Regions from separate parts of the Homo sapiens genome. Here region 2 is linked to region 1. Evidence: promoter capture Hi-C in human tissues and cell types (Jung and others, 2019). All regions are on one chromosome and are shown on one strand. Each heading gives the region's core, a stretch centred on a gene start or on the middle of the fragment in contact. The rest is flanking DNA. Distances are from core to core; before and after follow the strand shown. Region 1 holds the start of ZNF502 (zinc finger protein 502). Region 2 overlaps EXOSC7 (exosome component 7).

What was found. The method cuts DNA at HindIII sites, captures the fragments that hold promoters and counts their contacts. A contact is called where the count stands out against the background at its distance.
Region 2: a contact is called between a fragment that was not itself captured here and the fragment with the promoter of ZNF502 in region 1, in 1 of the 25 tissues and cell types used here (heart left ventricle).

The regions. Positions count from the first base shown.
Region 1 is chr3:44,711,162-44,716,592 of GRCh38, reverse strand. ZNF502 (zinc finger protein 502) reads right to left here and starts at 3,933. Exons shown (of 3, transcript NM_001134442.3): 1 at 3,853-3,933. LOC105377056 (a long non-coding RNA gene) reads left to right here. Exons shown (of 3, transcript XR_940788.4): 3 at 756-1,076. The HindIII fragment of the contact is 6,909 bases long and covers 1,017-5,431 here.
Region 2 is chr3:44,978,178-44,983,608 of GRCh38, reverse strand. All of the region lies in intron 1 of EXOSC7 (exosome component 7), which reads right to left. Among named protein-coding and RNA genes, the nearest start is that of EXOSC7, 4.6 kb to the right of the region's middle. The HindIII fragment of the contact is 3,779 bases long and covers 2,072-5,431 here.

The sequences.
Region 1 (5,431 bases), core at 2,684-5,183:
ATTTTGTGGATACAGGAATTCAGAACAGAATGCTCATTTTGTATATACACCACCTGTAGTGTACCTCAGAGTCATCAGTATGCCATAAAAAATGACTATATTCGGCTGGGCGCAGTGGCTCACACCTGTAATCCCAGCAGTCTGGGAGGCCAAGGCAGGTGGATCACCTGAGGTCAGGAGTTCGAGACCAGCCTGCCCAACATGGTGAAACCACGTCTCTACTAAAAAATACAAAAAATTAGCCGGGCGCAGTGGCAGGCACCTGTAATCTCAGCTACTCAGGAGGCTGAGGCAGGAGAATTGCTTGAACCCAGGGGGCAGAGGCTACAGTGAGCCGAGATCACGCCACTGCACTCCAGCTTGGGCGACAAGAGCGAAACTCCGTCTCAAAAAAAAAAAAAAAAGACTATATTCTTTGACCTAGTAATTCTACAAATAGAATTTTCTCAGAAAGAAGTAAATTTCCAGAGAGAAGAGAAACAGAATTCTTCTGTTACTTGTAAAAATATCCCCTGAAATGTACATGGAAATAAAAGTTTTTCTACTGGTGGACACTGAGGATTAGCAAATTATGGTACTTCTAGTTGGTGAAAATTATTTAGGCATTAAGATCATTAAAAATGAAAATATGTGTTTATTGGGAAAAATATTTATGCCATATGTTGAAAAAATCCAGTATAGTAAAATTTCAAGTAGTAATATAATGTAAAATATATGTTTGTTAAAATATACATGTGTCGTGCTTGTGGTTTCAGCTACTCAGGAGGCTGAGGTGGAAGGATCACTTGAACATGGGAGGTAGAGGTCGCAGTGAGCTGTGATAGCACCATTGCATTCCAACCTGGGTGACAGAGTGAGATCCCTCTCAAAAATTAAAAATTAAAAATACATCTGAATAAGATCAAGAAGGAAAAATAATCATCACTGTGGTAAAATAATGAATTGTGAATAATTTCCTCAAATGTCCTCTATTATCTATATTTTGCTCCACTTTAAAAAAAAAACAAATCTATAAGAATATATAACAAATTATTTATTGTGATCATATCTGAAGAATAAAATTATGGTAAACTTTTGCCTTAAGGCCTATCTTTTTGTAATGTTTGAAAATTTTCCCATAGGAATAACTAACTTCTGTAATCAAAGAAAAAGTGAAAAAGCATAATCAGAGATGGCCAGAGATTTATGTACAAAGATCACACTATTACTACAATTGTTAAATAAACAGGCAAATAAACATTGATAGACTAGCAAAGATAGCTTATGAAGGTATCAAAAATCATAATTTCAAAGAATATTCATGAGAAAATATAATATGTTAAAACAGGAAGATACAAAACACTAAAAAACAAGAAATATGCACACATATACTGGCATTAAGCACTCAATAAACAGAAACTATTGTTAATAAACAGATAAAACACACACATTTAAAAAAGACATAAAGAAAACCCACCAAAATATTAACACATTTATCTCTAGGTCAGTTAATGGGTCACTTTAGTTTGTCCTTTATACTCTTCTATATTTTTACTTCTCCTTCAATAAACATATATTACTTTTATAGGTAGAAAAAGTTACTTTTTAAAAACCCAGAAACAAAAACAAAAACAAAATGCCAGATCCAATGGCTATGGTATTGGCCTCCCATTCACAAGATGATAGTAGACTGGATTGGGACTCAGGAAAGTTTGCTCTGCCAATAGCCCATGTGAGTGGGCCTACATGACAGGCTATTTATCTGAAAAGGGTGACAAATTAGACAATATTTACGGGTCATTCCAGCTCTGATAATCTGTGAATCCTTGATGAGTTAATTCACATAAAGCATTCAAAAAGATATCTACTCGATGGCAGGCACTCAACAGGGGTTAGATGCTATTATGGTTGATACTAAAACCTACGGAGAAAGAAAGACATCTTGGTGATGACCACATCCTTCCAATCATGGATCATCTGAGCTGTCAGCAGTTTGTCAATGTCAAGGGTCAGCAAACATTTTCTGTAACAGGCCAGAAAGCAATTTTTTTTAGGTTTAATGGGTTAAATGGAAAATATAGTCTCTGTCTCAACTATTCAACTTTGCCTTTGTAGTCTGAAAACAGAAACAGACAATATGTACTGAATGAGCTTGCCTGTGTTTTAATAAAACAGTTTTACCAAAAAAAGTGGCAGACCAAATTTGGTCCATATTTGCTGACTCCTAGGTCTATAAGTTGCCCAGAAAGTAATGTACAGGTGCTTCTACAAATGCCTATTGTGGAATAATCTGGCTGTTAGTGATTTTAAGATGCTAAAAAGATCCCTCTGCAGATCTGGGGAAAGCTGAGTATTATGGTGAAAGGTAAAAAGGAAACAGGCTCTTAATAGCCCTATCCTGCTAACCTATTAGAGAGCTGGCTTCCTCCCTCTACCTTGTAAGCTTTTCCCCAGATGCCACCTCCTTACCCCTCAATAATTAGCTAAAAGAATCTAAGCAAGCTAGATGAAGTTTTTCAAGAATTTTTAACAATCCCTCCAACGAGACCACATTGAAATGTACTCCTCTCTGAAGCCCTTCTTGGTCTGCATTTTGGCACCAAACAGTGCACTCACCCAAGCTGTGGCAGTACACTTTATCTCTTATGCAGCCTTGGGTCACTTAGCAATGTGATCTGGGACAAGTTTTCTGTTCTCTCTGTACCTCAGTTCCCTCACTTAAAAACTACACATAGGCCTGGCGCGGTGTTTCACGCCTATAATCCCAGAACTTTGGGAGGCCAAGGCGGGTGGATCACTTGAGGTTGGGAGTTCGCGACCAGCCTGACCAACACTGTGAAACCCCGTTTCTACTAAAAATACAAAATTAGCCAGGTGTGGTGGCGCATGCCTGTAATCCCAGCTACTCGGGAGGCTGAGGCAGGAGAATCGCTTGAACCCGGGAGGCAGAGGTTGTGGTGAGCCCAGATCACCCCGTTGCACTCCAGCCTGGGCAACAAGAGTGAAATCCCGTCTCAAAAAAAAAAACAAACCAAAAACCAAAAAACAAAACTGTACACGCAATACGCTGTTGTGAAGATTAAATCAATTAGCACAAATGCTTCAAATAGTGCCTGGTATACAGTAAGTGCTAAATAAATGTAGTTTAAAATATTACCACCAAAATCTGCTTATGCCCTTATCGTCCTAAACAAGACTGGAAGCATCTTTACATGTGGCAGTCTCCGATGTCACTCTTTTGTAGCCTAGCCACTAAATTCGGGGTAATGTTTGGCATATAATGGATAGTAATCCTTCATTGGGAGGCATTAAGGTTTGCATACATGCTATCACATACAAGCTGTCAACTGAGCTTTGTGAAGAAGCAAGGAACAGACTTCTAGACAGTACTTTAGAGATTTCTGTACCCTCCAGAATTGTAACTCAGGTCTCAAGACTCCCAACGAGTGCACTTTACGCTATTTGCCGTCTCCTATAAAAACAGGCTCTAAACAAGTTTCGGAGCTACAGGATCAGCCGGGGGAAGAAACTGGTATCTGATCCCCAGGACCTCGTTTCCTGACATGGGTCCTAGGTCTGTCTTGATCATCTATCCATCACTCATTCACTCATTCATTCATTCACTCCGCCATTTTCCTAGGCATCTCCTCTGTGCCGGGCACTGTGCTGGGCCTTGGAGTCTGCAGTGCTGAGGCTGCAGGCTGGGCGGGCCGAGCCGCTAGGAGTGCCCTACGTCCGGGCAGCACGCGTAGGCAGCAACGTGGAGAGGACCGAGGCCGGGGCTGACTTCCCAGATAACCCTCCAGCCCGCCGCCCCAGCAATGGCTCGCCGGGGTCCTCTCTTTTCCCCTCCCTGGGTCCCAACTCGCTCACTGTGAGATCCACGGACTCTCCGCGGAGCGGCGCAGGCGCTCCCAGAGGTGGACTGGGGCCAGGACACCAGCCTTAACTTCTGAAACCGGAAGAATGGTGGCGCGGCCGGTAGTGCGTCAGCAGCGAGCTCGCGCATCCATTCTCTGATTCTCTAGGAAGCGGGAGGAACATCTCTATGGGACCCTAGAAGAAGGCATTCCCTCCAAACCCAGCCTGTAACTCCAGCTTTGTTTCCCGCCAAGCCCAGCCTGTAACTCCAGCCTTGCTTCCCGTCAAGCCCAGTCGCGTTCCTGATATCCCATTAACAACTATCTTGGCCTGAAACACAGTGGCTACCTCAACCCTCAGGAAAACTGTAGAGGGAGACGTTAGGGATGGAAAGGATGCTGGGTAGGAGCCGGAATGGGCCATCTCAACAAGAAACTAGTATATTCTACCTGCTTAAAATAGTCTCTATTAAGAACCTTGAGTGATCCCCTGTTATGTTAGAATAAAGGACAAACTCCCAATCTAGGCCCACACAAACTGACCTCAATATCAACATCTCTTATTTGGCTATCATATACATTCTGCTCTAAAGTTACTGAATTCCCATTGGCCCCCTGAAATCCCTTGCCTCTTCCTGACTCTAGATCTTTTTCCCAGGATTTTCCCTTTGGAATACTCTCCCTTCCTTCTACCTGCTCTCCCTAACCTCAGCTATCCAATTTATCCTGGTTCTTCAAATCCCAATGCCAATTCTCACTTGACCACCTAGACTGTTGCCCTTATGGGTCTTTACACTCACATATCACTATTAGTTATTCTAGCTCTAGCTAGCCTTCTATTCAGTGCCCCCCTAAATGCATACACTTGTATTTCTTTCGTAGGTATTGTTAGGAAGATACACACAAGTAGCATCCCACCCAAGGACAACTGTGAAAGACCCAATCAGTTCATTTTTATACAACTCTAATCAGCTATATGGAGCTATTATTTATCATTATATCTCAATGTTTAGCACAATGATTGGTAGAGAAGGCATTCAATAAATACTTGTTGAATTCGTTAATCAGAAACAGGTGAAATTTAGATTATTGGCATTTTTGATAAACTGAAAAATGAGGATACCATAGATTAAATCCAGAAAGCAAGCTCTCTGCACATCTGAAAGGATGTACCACGTAGCTGGCATATTCCCGTTTCTTTGGCTCACTCTATCCAATTGTTATCTCCCTTGGTAGAATGTAAGCTGTATGAAGGCAGGGGCCTTCTCTGTTTCATTCATACTATATCCCTAGCACCTAGAGCATGGCTGACATACTAGGCATTCAATCAGTATTTGATGAATGACTAGGTCACCATCAACTTCCAACAAGTTACAGGAAATAGTTACTCCACATAGATGTATACTGCTTGTTTGAGAGCTAAAACTGCTGGAAAATTATCTTTCTTCCCCCAGATTACCTAAAGTGTACATTCCAGAGATGAATGTTGCTTCCCTGTGAGAAATAGAAACTCCTTCTAAATTATATTTACCTGACCCCCACCAAAAGAGATTATATGAAGGTATTTTCCATTCTGGGCGGCGGGGTCGGGG
Region 2 (5,431 bases), core at 2,712-5,211, 270 kb before region 1:
TGGATGCCAGGAAAGCTCTTGGTGACTTTCACAGCTGTTACCCATGTGATCACAACAACCCTACCAGTAGGGTGTGGTGTGGTGGAAACAGCCACCTTCCAAATTATACTTAAATCTCTGTTGTCACATGCCAGTTTTGTGACCTTGACCTAAATAGCTCTAAGCCTGTTTCTTCATCTAGAAAGCAGGGATAACCCCGACCTTACAGAGTTACAAGAGAACAGAAACGTCATAAAGCATTTAAAGGAGTCCTTCAGTGTAACACATAGGAGTCCCCCCAAAGCAGTTCCCTTCCCCTGCTTCTGGGGGCATGCATTAACTCACTGCATCCTCAAAAACAACCCTGAGAGAGGTTACAGATAAGAATGGAGGCACCTAAGTTTCAATCTCCTGTTTGTGACAGAGTGGAAGGACATTTAAGCACAGACCTACTTTCCCTCACACCCAGGAAGCCCAGTCCTATTACTTCTTAATAGAAACTGACAAGTTGGCGCTACCAATCTGACACATCTGGAAGGACTTTAGACTCAAAGTGGTCCTCTGAGGTTATGTTAACCCCTCATTAACTTGCTTTGACTTGTCTAATACTCCAGATTCCTAAAGGAGAAGTGAGACTAAATTCCTTCCCCTACTAGAAGGTGACTGCCCCCCGCCCTTAGGAAAGGGGCCACATTTGGTCCAGCTTTGCAGGCTCGGGCCCATCACACAGCAGGCAAAAGTAGGTGTTGATCCTTGTTTGACTTTCCAACCCTGTTGAGTAGCCAGGCATTCCTCTGAAAGGATATGGCTCCATAACTCTGCATCCTGCAGTGTCTGGGCATAAGGCTTTCTGTGCCATGGGTCTGTAAACAGAAAGGGCAGAGAGCTAAAAATCAAGAGTCCTGAGGGCTGGCTCCAATTCTGTCATGGCCAGACTGAGCAACCGAATACTGACTGCTCAATCTCATAGTTGAAAACCAGGCTGAGGCCCTGATCTCCCTCTTCCATGCTATACCCCTAAACAATGCTTATGATGAAAGCAAGATCCACAGAAAAGAAATGGAAGCCATCAGCTGGGCTACAACTCCCTTCAACAGCCAAGAACATACAATAAAATGGCTTTCACAGGGTTCCAAGAGCCCTGTGGTAGGGTTCGTCAATTGCCATGGCCAGGTCTGAACCTATGAGGGCCAGTTTAATGTCCAGGTCATAGCCATAGCACTCAGTAGGCTGAACCTGGGAAAGCTTTATTGTGCCTAAAGCCCTGTAAAGGCCACATAACAGTCACCATCCATCCCCAACAGCCAGGACCAGGGGTAGGTGCCTGAACCAAAGGCATATAATCCAAAGGGTGACCAACTCTTTTTGGCGTGAAATACTACCAGACCAAACTGATTCTCTCATTGCAATCTGGTCTCTGATCTGAGAAACACTTGAGAGAAGAAAGGAGTTAAAGAGGAGCTGACAGGTCATGATATGGAGGAGCCCAGAGAGGCCACACGAAAGTAAAGGTATTGGGCAGAGGCAGATTCTACAAAGAAGGGAAGCTGGACAGCAAGTGGCTGCAGAGAAGGGATAAATCTTGGCAGAGAAAAGCAGAGATGTCACTAGAGATAAAGACAGACAGCCACACAGGCCATGAGATAATCCACGGAGCCCATGAGAGGCGGTACCTCAGAGCTGTCTGGGGACTTTCCAGCTCTTGCCACAGATCCCCCTTCTCTTTTTTCTTTTTCTTTCTTTTAAGAGACAGAGTATCTCTCTGTCACCCAGGCTGGAGTGAAATCTCCAACTCCTGGGCTCAAGCGATCCTCTGGCCTCAGCCTCCCAAGCAGCTAGGCCTACAGGCACACACCACCACACACCTAATTTTTTTTAGAGATAGGGTGTTGCTATGTTGCCCAGACTGGATGCCAACTCCTGGCCTCTGGTGATCCTCCCACCTCAGCCTCCCAAAGGGCTGGGATTACAGGTGTGAGCCACTGCACCTGGCCTATCCCTTTTCTTGAGATAATTGAAAAATCCCGATTCCTTCAAATCAAAAGAGGTTTAATTCTCAGGAGCCACAGGCTGAATCTTTAATGAGGTCACTATGAAGGCTGGGGATCTAGTGTGGATGGTTTAAGACAAAGTCACACTTCTGATGGAAAAACAAACTTGAAAGGGAGCCAGCATTTTTTCTGTGTTAACCACAGCCCAAGTGCTTGACATCTCTTATCTCATCATTCCTCATAACCCCATTCTACTTCCAGGTGCATAAGTCCCCATTTTACACAAGGGAAGCAGGTTCAGTTATGCAAGTAAAACCACTTATTGTAAATGGTGAAGGTGCCTGCTCAGTCTGACTCCAAAGCCTCATTCAAAAAGAGGCAGGAAACCATATGACTTCAGCAGGAGAGAGCAGAGATTTCTTTATCTCTGGTCAGTGGCTTACCCATGGGCCAATGTCTGGTGGCTGCCCCCAAATTTCCCAACACTTTATGATAATGTCCATTCTCAGGCCCCAGCCCCAGAGAGTCTGATTCAGAATGTTGGGGTAAAGCCTCAGAATCTGTATTTTGTAGGTGAGTAAAATGCACTTCAAGGCTTCAGAATCCCTGGGCTAAGAGGGAGGTTAGCAATGGCTTCTCATGGATGAGGAAAACACACATCTAGCCCAGTAAGCCAGAAAAGAGGATAAATCCTAGATTCTAAAAATTCTGAAGTCTGCTCCAAGTTCTGCATGGTATGGGCAGAGTAAATCGTTTATGATACTAGTAAGACAAAAGCTATACAAAGAAATGCAATATAGGGTTCTAAAGGAACTTATACTCAATGTGGGAAAAATGCAACCAAAACAATACAGCAGTATATGCCATATACTATTTAAGCTCTAGAAAAACTGGGGAGTGGGAGGTGTCAATTAGAACTTTCTCTTTCCCTTCCAGTTTCCCCACAAGCTTTTAGAGAAAGGGGGAAAGAAAAGGAGGTAGAGGAAGCAAAGATTCTCTCCTGCCTTGATCTCTGGATCCCTACTGAGGAAATGGAAGAAATGACTTTCACTGCAGCAGGAAGGTGGCCTCAGAGTCAAGTATGGGCTTTGCAATCAGACAGGTCTGGATTTAAATCCCAGTGCCACCACTCAATTACTGTGTCACCTTGACAAGCGACTCAACCTGCCCGAGCTCAGTTCCTCATCTATAGAGATAACATTTACCTTCAGAACTGTTGTAAATATTCAATGAAATAAAAATTATAATATGTACCTAATAAGAATGGGATATAGCCTTCAAAGACTGAAAGAGAACCTAACAGAAACCAATCAAATTATTTATCAAAATACCGATTTAATCCACCTTTTTGATTCTCTGTTCTCCCCTGGGAGAGGGGATCTGTTCACCAGGTTGACTCAAATTGTATCACCTAGACTCCCTTTGCTGGCTTCTGGTTGGGTTTGTCCAGTGGAAGATACCAGATCAGAGGGTGCCCCTCACCCCCAATCTAGTGGCCACATTTCTGATAGTGCCTGCATCTATCGAAGACTATGACTTATGTTGGGCAGCCCTTCCTCCACAGTTCCAGCTATCACTGAAATGTGGTAATACTGTTTCCTCCCCTGGCCCCTTTGGAATAGGGGCAGTAGCCACTCCCAGTAGTTGTCTTGGGGCTCCTCAACATCTCTTATTGGTTCCCTGAAACCCCCCCCATACTGCTCTAGAGTCCCATCATAAAAGTCTCCTGAACTACCTGAAGAGGGTTCCATTTTCTGCCAATAACTAAAATGATCCACCCTCCCTTCTCACAAACTGACTTCTCCCAAGTGTGACACATCCTCTAGTGGCCATGTTTGAGCCTAATTATTCTGTCCATCCTTTCCCTCAACCCCCTAAAAGAACTAGAGTTTCTTTCTCTTGGAAACATGAGTTCAGAACTGAACGAGAAGGAATGGTCTCTTTTACAGAGGAACTGGGAAGGAACCACATTTTTTCTACCACTGGCCCAAGAAATAGAAAACCAATCTGTAGGGAGACAAAAACAAAGCAAAGAGGGGGAAAAAAAAAACCAGCAGAGATTAGGATTCCTGGAGAAACACTTGCAGCCTTGTAATCCATACTGTTTTGCTTGAGCCGATGTGTTGGTTACCATTACTAGCAACTGAATCCTCAACACATCGTGAGGTTAATTTCAACTGCTTCTAACTATCACCAAAACAAGATGAAATATTCCCTGAAATAGTAAAAGAACCAAAGGCTGAAGGGAAAGTGACATCAGAAGCTGAAATGGACGTTACTGGACCAAAGGTGAAAAGTAAAACACAAAATGACTAGGACTATACAAGCAACAGGAGTTCAGGCAGGCACTGCTTAAGGTGCACTGCCGGCACTCTATAACCAACGCAACAAAAGTTTAGGAGATTTCAGAACTGAATCAGTTGAGATTCCATGGTAGGCTCATTCACCTGCATCCTGACCTTTATTTGGATGGTGTAAATTGTGTTTTGCTCCTCTATACATATGGCATATTTTGGGCCAACATTAATAAGCCCTTATGAAGACGTTGATTTGAAGCCCATTACTCTGCATGGCTCTGTGATACACAGAGCTGAGCATTTACCAACAACTGTGCCCAAATATGTCCATGGTACTGGTGAGAGGGAGGTTTAATTTAAAAAATAAAAACACCATCCAACTCATTCCCCCTTTAAAGCTTACATCACCCATTCAATGCTACTAAGAACCTACCAAGTGCTAGACACTGGCTATGCCTTAAGGGTCCCCCATACAGACAAGTCAACAGGCTATTGCCTTCCAAGATCCATGATGAGCGAATGACTGAACCTCTAAGACCTCTAGGATCGTGCTTCTGGCCACCTCTGCAAGCTGATCTTCCACCATTTCCCCCAGCCCACCCCTTGGGCTCCACATGTCCTCCACCTGAGGATTTACAGACTCACCACCCCTTCCTTCTGGAACACTGGTGCCTACTTAATTCTCAGTCATGCTGAGAACTCAGTTCAAATGCTATTTCCTTAGGGAAGCCTCCTCTGACCTCCCAGTCTAGATCGTGTCCGTTTTTTCCTTCATAGCATTCAGTACAATTTTATATATAAACACTCAAGTACATTTATAGTTTCTGCATCTTCCTTCTAGCATGAGAGCTATATAAGGACAGGTTCCTTCCTAGCCCCTGAGTCTAGCTCAGTTCTGTGTTGAATGAATGAATACTGAGTCCTGAAGATACAGAGGAGGAATCCTTGACATGGATTTAGGGGAGCAATTCCACCTCCTTAGGGAAGCCTTCAGAGCATTACAAGTCCCTGGAATTCTTTTTATTTATTAAAAAAAAATTATTTCTTTAGAGATGGGCTCTCACTGTGTTGCCCAAGCTGGTCTCAAACTCCTAGGCTCAAGCAATCCTCCCATCTCAGCCTTTCAAAGTGCTGGGATTACAGGCGTGAGCCACAATGCCCGGC